2 separate regions of the Homo sapiens genome follow, and region 2 is linked to region 1. The links are contacts of gene promoters, found by promoter capture Hi-C in blood cells and fetal thymus (Javierre and others, 2016). All regions are on one chromosome and are shown on one strand. The core of a region is centred on a gene start or on the middle of the fragment in contact, and the rest is flanking DNA. Distances in the headings are between cores, read along the strand shown.

Evidence for each region. Contacts are between HindIII fragments. The CHiCAGO score rates a contact against its expected background, and 5 or more counts as called.
Region 2: a fragment that was not itself captured here is called in contact with the fragment with the promoter of LARS2-AS1 in region 1 in 6 of 17 cell types (megakaryocytes, endothelial precursors, M0 macrophages and 3 more); the score reaches 13.3 in megakaryocytes.

Annotation. Positions count from the first base shown.
Region 1 is chr3:45,507,509-45,512,512 of GRCh38, forward strand. LARS2-AS1 (LARS2 antisense RNA 1) reads right to left here and starts at 2,037. Exons shown (of 4, transcript NR_048543.1): 1 at 1,849-2,037. The region is part of intron 15 of LARS2 (leucyl-tRNA synthetase 2, mitochondrial); the gene reads left to right. RefSeq lists an enhancer at 416-1,282 and a silencer at 2,109-2,403. The HindIII fragment of the contact is 1,698 bases long and covers 842-2,539 here.
Region 2 is chr3:45,214,468-45,219,471 of GRCh38, forward strand. LOC101928636 (a long non-coding RNA gene) reads left to right here. Exons shown (of 4, transcript XR_001740675.2): 4 at 1-2,307. Among named protein-coding and RNA genes, the nearest start is that of TMEM158, 9.3 kb to the right of the region's middle. RefSeq lists enhancers at 617-1,117, 1,118-1,618. The HindIII fragment of the contact is 3,051 bases long and covers 1,065-4,115 here.

The sequences.
Region 1 (5,004 bases), core at 787-3,286:
TTCAAGTAGCTAAAAATTTGGATACAATCTAAATGCCCCAAAATGCTGAGACAGGGTAAATAAAGTATAATCCATCTACGTGGAGCACACTTATACAACACTTTCAATTAAATTACAAAGAATGTTTAATAACATGGAGAAATTCATCTGAAGTAATGAGAAATAGAAAAAGCAAGATACAGCTTGGTTATCTTTGTCTTTATATATACAAGCACATATATACACATACTCAAAGCAAGAGAAAAGACTTGAAAAACTCATGCCAACATGTTAACACTAGCTATCTCTGGGTGGTGAGCCCAATATACTTCTGATTTTTTCCAGATTTTTTACAATGATTGTGTAACTTTATCATTTACAGTATGGTATATATTCCAAAGAAGGAAAATATGCTGAGCCTCCTGCTGTGGTTGTGGGTGTGGGGTAGGATCAGCTTTCAGCTTCCCTCCTTCCGGTGGTTAGCACCAGGTTGAAAGAGAGGGGGCACATTAGAGCGTGGGAACATGTCATGGCCCATCTTCACTGAATGAGATCAGGAAGCCTTTTCTCTCCCTTTGTGGGAGACCGCTGTAAACATGGAATCTTGTCACTTTTTGTTGTAGCTCTGTAATGCAACTTAGACACTAAATTCCCCAAACTGAATTTCTCCCTTCAGTTTGGAATCAACAGAAAGTGGTGGCTGTCAGAAGCAAGCAGCTGCTCAGGGAGCTCCCATGAGAAGGGCAGGCCGCCTGCTGACCGTGGAGAGCACAGCAAGCCCCTATCCACAGAGCTTTCTTCTCTGTTACTCTGATCATGCCAGAAACGGGGCTACTGGGAAAAGGAACAGGAAGGGAAGAGAAGCTTTACTTGGGTCCTGCTGTATTAGTAAACCCTCCTTCTGCGCCACTAACTGGCTGCTAGGAAATGGGAATGGTGATATTTCAAGAATGAGCCATGGCTAATACTTAGAAACTAGGCTAATTATGTGACATGATGGCCCTGGGCACAGAACAAGGAAGAAGAGGAAGGTAAACTTAGTCTGATTTAATGAAAAGTCCAATTTGGAGACCATTTTCAGAGATCTATGGCCTTCAAAGATCTGCAGCCTGGCAGGCCACTCTCGCACCAGGTCAGGGGAGTGGGCAGCAGGCTCTCTGGGGCTTCATGAATAGGTAAATGTCATCTGCAGCAAGAAGGTGGGGCTCTGATACATCCTGATATTCTTTGCTCATACTGTAATTAGCACATTCCTTGTATATAGTGATTTTTTTAAGAGCACTTAACATGGCCAATCAATCAATGTTCTGAATTTCCTTGTTTATCCTAATAATTAGCAACTCCCTTCCTTCCCTCCCTTCCTCCCTCTCCTCCCTCCCTACCTTTCCTCCCCTCTTTCCCTGCCTCCCTCCCTTCCTTCTTTCCTTCTTCCAAGTGGGACAAATGTGGCCTTCAATGCCCAGCAGCTATCAGTTGTTGCAATTTCTGAGTTAGTGCAGTCTAAACTAATGAAGAAATTGTGAAGATCTCCCCCCAGTTTTCATCACTGTGCTTACATATAGCTGTGCTTCAGTGCAAGCAAGCATGATCTACCTCCAGGGATGTACCGAAGGAGTAGGAAGAAAGCTGACTCAGAAATCCAGGGCCTTCTTCAAGGCAGAGGCCCTGCCTAATACTCCCGCGTTTGATGGTCCCTGAGTCAGAACGGTTTGTTAGTGGTTTAGAGTTGCAGATTTTCCACTCACTTATAAAGGCCCCTGCTGTGCACAGTCACTATGATGAATGAATAACTCAGTTGCATACGCAAGTCTGTTCCCAAGTACCATCTGTTGAGTGAATGAATGAGTGAACAAAAGGGAAACACATTACCCCAATTGTGAATCTGAATAATGAACTTGGCAATGTGATGTGATCTCTGCTCCAGCAGGCCTGGGTTCCAAGTCCAGCAGGGCCCTTGATGTCCTTTGTCCTTCATTCCTGTGCACCTTGCGCCTCCAAATCACATTTGGTACGTCTTTCTTGTAGTGCTGATGGTTATTTATGAGCATGTCCTGGGCTGCCTGTTCTTATTGTAAGCTCTCCAATTAATTGCCTAGTGCTGTGTACCCAATTATCATGTAAATACATGTTGAATGAATAAACAAGTGTGACTCATTCAGAGCTAAACTACGCATGAGAGTAGACATGGCCAGCTTCAGCCAAGAGTGAAAACCAGATTCCCAACTCCCTATAGCCCATTCCCTGGCTCCCTGGAAAAGTGGAGGGAAAACACTTGGGAATGAGCAGGATTCTAGGAGCTGGGAAGCGCCCCTTTCCCCACTGGGAAATTCCATGTGAGCACTCATCGGGGCATTCCCCTGCTCTCATTCTCTTGCTTCAGCTGCTTGGGATCTTTCAATGCACCCCTCCCTGCAAAAAGATGGTGGCACTAGCTGGAAAGTATAGCATCCAGTGCCCCACTTCACTCATTTCTTTCTTCCCTCCTCTCTTGCCTCCACTTTGTCCTACTCACATTATCCCCCACCCCTGCTGCTGGTAGGTTTATTCATCCACTGAAACAAGCTTGATTGAGTTCAAGGCAATTAACATTACTGAGCATCTGTTAGGAACTGGAGACTGAGAGTGGCCTTTAAGGATTTTCAAGGCCAGGAGCAGTGGCTCATGCCTGTAATCCCAGCATTTTGGGAGGCCGAGGCAGGAGGATTGCTTGAGCTCAGGAGTTCAAGACCAGCCTGGGCAACATAGTGAGACTTCATCTCTACCAAAAATACAAAAAATTAGCTGGGTGTGGTAGTGCGCGCCTGTGGTCCCAGCTGCTTGCAGGGGTAAGGTGGGAATATCACTTGAGCCCAGGAGACTGAGGCTGCAGTGAGCTGTGATTGTGCCACTGCACCCCAGCCTGGGTGACAGAACAAGACCCTGTCTCAAAAAAAAATCATCCTCCTACTCCTCACAGGAGAAAGACAGGCAAGCAGCTTACCTAAATACACAATAAAATGTAATAGCTGCTAGATACAATTACAGGCACTACACAGGATGCATCAGGAAGGAAAAAACAACTAATTCTAATTCTGACCAGGAGATACCTTCTCAGTGGAGATGGCATTTGAGTTGAGCCAGGAAGGAGGACTAGAGTTTTGATAACAGTTTGGGAAATGGCGTGAGTAAAGACGTGGAAGCACATGCAGGCAACATTTGAAAGAGCAGAGGGAGTGGCAGGGGACAGGGAGAAGTCCTGGATGGCTATGCGGAGGAATTTGGACTTGATTGGGAGGAGGAGCTCTTCAAATATGACTGCACTCTTTCTTTTCCTCCCTCACAGCTCTGAGAGTTGTCAGGCATTGGTTTGGTTCAGTGATCGTAAACAGGCTGGCTCCCCAAGGGCAGAGATTGCTTTGCCCAACATTATATCCCCAGTGCCTAGCTCAGTGCCAGGCACATAGCAAGCACTCAAGAAATACCAAAGAAATAAGTGATACATTTCACATAATAACTCTGTGCTTTCTGATTATATGGTACGAAGAAGAATTCAGAGACTCGTTCTGAGCACCAGGAGTGCTGCTGTCGATGAATGGTGTCTGGGTGGTTGTAGGCAAGGGCACTGGGGATAGTTGGCTAGGTTTTGCCATCCCTGCTCTAGATGATCCATCTGAGATGGCCCCTGCTGCACTGCAACCCTCAGAGAAGACAGTCCAGAAGAGCTTCAACTGTCAAGTTTCATTGTTGGAAGCTTTCAGACATTAGGATATATTCATGTAACTAGCAGGTCTTGGTGTGGGTGCACTGCTGAGGACCTGCCTGCCAGTTCTGGGGAAAGCCTCCCATGTGGACATCCCCTGAGAGCTCTCACTAAGAAATGGCTACAAGCGGGTTAGAAACAGGCAGATGAAATAATAGTGTTAGCAGTCAGGCTATAGGGGCCCATAGTGAGGAGACAGTGCCTAGAAGCGGATGGAAGGTTGATTTCACGTTCTGCTAATTGGGCTGAATGCCAGTTACACAAGTGTGTTTTATATTGTGAAGATTCATCATTATACCGCTAGGACTTACACTTTTCAATATGTGTGCTATACCTCAACAGTTTACCTTAAAAAAAAAAAAGTTATAAAAGACGAGGCAAAAGTTGCAGCCTTAGGCTGAACAGCTGGGGTTAGTCAGTTTTTCGCAGGTTGCAATTCTGTCCGTTCTCGGAAGGTGGCAGTGTTGTGCCACTTGATAAAATACAAGACCTAAGAATAGGATTCCTTGGATTCCCAGCCCCTTCTTGAGGCTTAATGCTGCTGATTTTTTTTTTTTTTTTTTTTTTTGGAGACAGAGTCTCGCTCTGTCTCCCAGGCTGGGGTGCAGTGGCGTGATCTCGGCCCACTGCAACCTCCGCTTCCTGGGCTCAAGCAACCCCTGCCTCAGCCTCCCAAGCAGCGGGGACTACAGGTGCGCGCCCCCACACCTGGCCAACTTTTTGTATTTTAGTAGAGACGGGGTTTCACCATGTTGCCCAGGCCAGTCTCAAACTTTGAGCTCAGGCAATCCACCTGCCTCGGCCTCCCAAAGCGCTAGGATTACAAGCGTGAGCCACCGCGCCTGGCCAATGCTGCTGATTTTGATCATCCTACCTATCTTTATCTTTGAATCCAGATCATTCTCTCCTAACTTTTGCCCTAAAAACACCTTTAAAAATTTACCTTGAGCAACCAAAGCCATGTACTGGTGATGTTTGTGGGGAACATCACTGGATCTCCAGGAAATGAGTGCTCCTACCTGATACCCTGAACACGAAATACTTAACGTGTGTTATCAGCAGATATCGCCATGAATCATTCTTTGAGTTTGGAATAGGTCTTGCTGAAATGCCTCAAAATTGAATCAGGCAGATTCTTAAGAATAAACAACTGCAAATTTGCAATAATTTCAGTATGAAGGTCAACCTGTTCTTATCCTCTTATGAGAAAAAGTTTATATGTCACTATTTACCCAGTAAGGGTATAACTAAAACTACTTTTTAAAACAGGTACTATAAATAAGTTA
Region 2 (5,004 bases), core at 1,340-3,839, 290 kb before region 1:
ACAGGAACACACAATTTTTGCTCATAATGCAATTCAACAGAGAGTTCTTGAAGGCCTGTGTGGGCACATCTCTGAGACACCAAGATGGTAAAATTCCAGGATTCTCCCCACACCCAGGGAGGACAACCTAGCTGCCCCACTGTGCACTTTGGAGGCACAGCCCTCATTAGATTGCTGTGAGGATTTGGAAGGTCAAGTTCCTGGCATCTACAACCCATGCTAATTTCTTCTCTTCCTTACTTTAGAGCATGATATTCATTGCTAACTGACAAAGAAATCATTTTTAAAATGTGAAACATTTCTTCTTTCTTGTTTACCTCATTGACTTGAAAAAAAATCTTTACTCCATGGCCCTGGTCATTTGAATAGAAAAATGCAAAAATCATAATGATTTTATAGATTATTAGAGCCACGCAAACAGCCAATTTAGACAATCCAGGGCAAAATACATTCTGATATCTTAAGCATCCTCTTTTCTTACTTGTACATGTTTCCCCTTCAAGTCACTCAGAAAAATGAGAGGACTTGGCCTCTGTTTCAGTCTACCTGCTGGAAAAATCCTCGAGGGAAGTGTCTTTGTGGTGGATGTGGTCTGACTTGGCCTGGAAGATGGGGAGGGAAAGCCTGAACACAAAACTGCAGGCCTGCGAGGGACTGGGGCCTTACCTGCCCCAATCCCCTTGTTCTGTAGAGGAGGAGACGGAAGCTCAAGCTGCAGCCAAACAGCTCATGCATGGCAGGGCAGGTACTGCAAGCAGGTGTCCTGGGGTCCTGTCCCATGCTATTACCAGCCTGCTGGTGGCCTCAGCAAATTCCCTAATACTGAGGGGCTTCCCTTATAATGCACATACTGGGGAACCAGGACTTTGCACGCAATGACAGATGGCAGGGACTTCTGACCTCATTAGGGAGGGCCGGCATGACAAAGCCAGCTGTACCTCAGTGGGCCCCAGTGCAGGACACCAGAGACAAGACCACCCAGCCAGATCTCCTCGAGACTGGCAAGGCCTGGTGGTCAGCATTGTTGGCCGGAGAGGGAGTTGAAACTTTGATGGGCACATTTAAGCTTCATGTCCTCTGGGCACCCCCCACTCCACCATTGATGGGAATGGCACTGAAGAACACTGTGAGGTCTGCAGTGAATGCTGCAGGCACCCCATCCACATTCCTCTTACAGCTGCTCTGAGTGTAGGCTGCAGACTTCTCCCAGCTGCCTCCCCTTCTAGAGAGCTGGGCCCAGCTAAACGGAAGCTGCCAGGGAGGCTGTGCTGACTCCTCTACCTAGAATTTGACCCGTGATTGGTTAAAGTGGAAATACAAAAGACCAGCCCTTTGTCTCAAGGTGCAGCAACTGTGGTGCACGGCCTGCTCCAGAGGTTCCCCTGGGGTCAGGCTGAAGCCCACATCAGCTGAGACCACGTGCTTGCTTTGCTACTTCCCCTGCCCCATTCTGCTTCCCTCACTCCCCTTCTCCTGAAAGCATGCCCCAATTCATCGCTTGGATGAGACTCTCCATCTCAGGCTCTGCTTCTAGGGAACCCAGTCTAAGTCACGATCCATTCTGGAAGACCTTAACACTTTCCACTGACTGTGAGAGCTGCCGAATACATTTTGACCCATGGGTGGTTCCTGTCCTTGGTGATTCCCCGACCTCTGGTGAGATCTTTTCCTCTCTGGCAAGCCTCTGGATGTTCTGACTTCAGAGGGGTTCTGGCTGCAGCTTTAACTCAGCCATATGTTGTGACAGCTCTTGGAGCAGCATTACACGGGAGCAATATCCTTCCTGCTAATTGGATCTCAGAATTCATTTTCGGACCAAAGACATCAAATAAACCCAGGAAATACGAAGCCGTTTGCAGTTATGACTTGAGACGAATTGAGTTGTTCATCCTCTAAAGTTGTGTTCTGTTCCTTATCAGCCTCATCTGAAATCTCAGACACAAAAGCAGAGATGTTTCTGCCAGGAGGGGCGGAAAGTTCGGTCTGGTTTTGATATGTGTCTGGAGATGATAAACTTGGGAAGGGAAATATAGCAGATCCAATCCTCCCTCCCCCATCTCCATTAGGTCTTTGGCCTTGATAGATTTCAATATCCTGTGCAGCTGATGTCTGACCCACGCATCAAGAATACAGCCTTCACACACCTGCCGTGAGAAGCCCTCTATGACCTTCTGCAGAGGGAGGGAACTGCCTAAGAGCTGCTGAGTGCAGGAATGCAGGGTGCTAAGAAGCAGGTACCCAGTTTGGGGTTAAAATATGTATAATATATCCATTTGAATACCCATCAATAAATATCAGTCATGCTCACTTTTGGGTGCTGGGGGTTATTGGAGATATTGATTCATTTGTTTTATGAGTGGTATTTTCTAATTTTTCTATGATATAACACTGGTCTAGTAAAGAAATACAAGTTTTAAAAGCAGTTATGCACAACACAGTTCCTTTTTTTTTTGAGATGGAGTTTGGCTTTTGTCTCCCAGGCTGGAGTGCAATGGCGTGATCTCAGCTCACTGCAACCTCTGCCTCCCGGGTTCAAGCAATTCTCCTGCCTCAGCCTCCCGAGTAGCTGGGATTACAGGTGCCTGCCACCACACCGGGCTAATTTTTGCATTTTTAGTAGAGATGGGGTTTCACCATGTTGGCCAGGGTGGTCTCGAACTCCTAACCTCAGGTGATCCACCCGCTTTGGCCTCCCAAAGTGCTGGGATTACGGGCATGAGCCACCACGCCTGGCCATTTCCATTTTTTAATTTGAATAATTACTTATGGTCACACACACGTGTAAAACAAAACTGCAACTACATGCACCAAAATGTTTGCAGGGCTTAGTTTTGGGTAGTAGGAAGATGTGTGGTCTTTTCTTTCTTTTTTACTTAGCAAGGTATTCTATGACTTCAGGCAATGCTGTATGGTAAAATATCCATTCTCAGTCTCTGATGGACCTGCACAGTGTTAACCAACACAGGTCCCCTCTCAGGGACATGGTGATGGCCTTGCACTGGCATGGTGGTATGTGCCTTTCAGGCTGAGTGAGACACTGGAACTCAGTGATCCAAGGAGAGAGGATGGAGCTAGTCCCCTTGGGATAGCTCTGCAGGATAGAAGCCAGCAGAACCTGCTCCCAGCCACCAGGCAGGCTCCTGCCCATGTGCCCCTCCTGCCTGGAGTCTTCCCATGGAGGGTCCTCCATGTGCATGTTCTGCTCTCCATTCTCCCCGTGCCTCAGCCTCCAGCTCCAGGGCACCCACTCCATTCTCCCCTGTGCCTTGCGGTGGGAGCATTTGGGTCTCTCATTTTGTGCGAGTGCGGGGCTGATGAGAAAGGGGATCATCTTTCTGTTCTTAGAGCTGATGTTTCAATTCTCTTTTCCTTCTCTCCTCTTAGTTATTGCCTTTCCTTCTATTTCTTCTGCTTCTTCCCTCTCCAGTCCAAGGGAACCGTTATTAGTAATCATATTTATTATGATTACTGTATAATAATCATATTTATTATTATCACTATTTTCTAGTGTAGTCCTCCCTCAGCAGCTGCAGAGTTATCTAGAAACACAGGAGGGAAGATAGGGCGTAATGTTAAATTCTATGGTAAGAAAATCAGCATCTATCTTGCAAGAACAAATAATACATGGAATTAACTTGAGCCAGGGAATTCCTGAGGATCATAAATATTCTGAAATAAGATTCCAAGGTACTACAATAGCAAGACCACAGTTCTAGATCCTTACACAGTGTGGATCATGATTTAAGTCCAGAGTGGCTACCATAGAAGGCAGCCCTATAGGTAGGCTGGAAATCACAAATGTTACCCCCGGGATAGAAAAGTGCATTGGTAACAGTGGTGGCTCAGAGGGGCCTGGAGTGCCATCGCAAGGGGACTCTGGGGGCTCTGTCAGGTTCTAAACAAGTTTCTCCAACCTGCAGCCACTTGACCTCTAGATTGGGGTTGGGGTATTTGGGGGGTTGGAGAGATAGGGCCAGCAGCCTTCTGTCCCATGCCCACTGACCCTCAGGAAGTCTGATAGGACTGCCAGTAGCCCAGCAAGGACTCTAATCACAGAACAAAAGGGGTCCTGGTGGGGCACCTGGAAGGTAGGTTATTTTCTAGAGTGCCAAAAAAGCTTGCTGGGAGGCATGTTGTCTCCATAGTCAAAATGAGGCCTTGGCATGTTATCAAGATGCCAATCATTTTGATTTTTATCACTGATCCTGTGAAAGCACACAAAAGAATGCATCTTTGGCAGCACTCTAGTGCTTTGAGAGACAGTCCTGGGAATGCTCAGGCAATAAGAACGCCAGGAAAATACTAAGGGTGAGACGAGGAGAAAGGCCTTTAATTGTCCTGAGTGAACAGCCATGCCACCTGTCCTCAGACGACCACAGGAAATCCCCACCCTCCTCAAAATAACCTTGGGCCTTGTCCCATCCCGGGGTGTGGCAGAAAGCATCCAGTGTCAGCACAGGCTTGGAGGATGCCTAGGCTTGGAGGGGATGGTGCACTGGCTGGATCGATTGGGCTGAGGGTTATGTGATCTTGATAGCTGGAAGTGAGGGGCAGAAAAGAAGGCAGCCTCTTAGAAAGACCAGAAACAGAAGATTGCGGCGAAAGCATGGGGGCCTGCTGTCTGCAGAGACCTTGGCTGTAAAGAAAACAGCAGGAGCTGACCGAGGACAGTGTTGCTGTGTGGGGAATGGACAAAAAATTTGTAAATTTAAGTTACTCACCAGACACGGTGACTCATGCCTGTAATCCCAGCACTTTGGGAGGCCAAGGTGGGCGGATCCCTTGAGGTCAGAGTTTGAGACCAGCCTGCCCAACATAGGGAAAACTGTCTCTACTAAAAATATAAAATTAGTCGAGTGTGGTGGCAGGTGCCTGTAGTTCCAGCTATTTGGGAGGCTGAGGCAGGAGAATGGCTTGAATCTGGGAGGCAGAGTTTGCAGTGAGCTAAGATGGTGCCACTGCACTCCAGCCTGGGCAATAGAGTGAGATGCTGTCTCAAAAAAA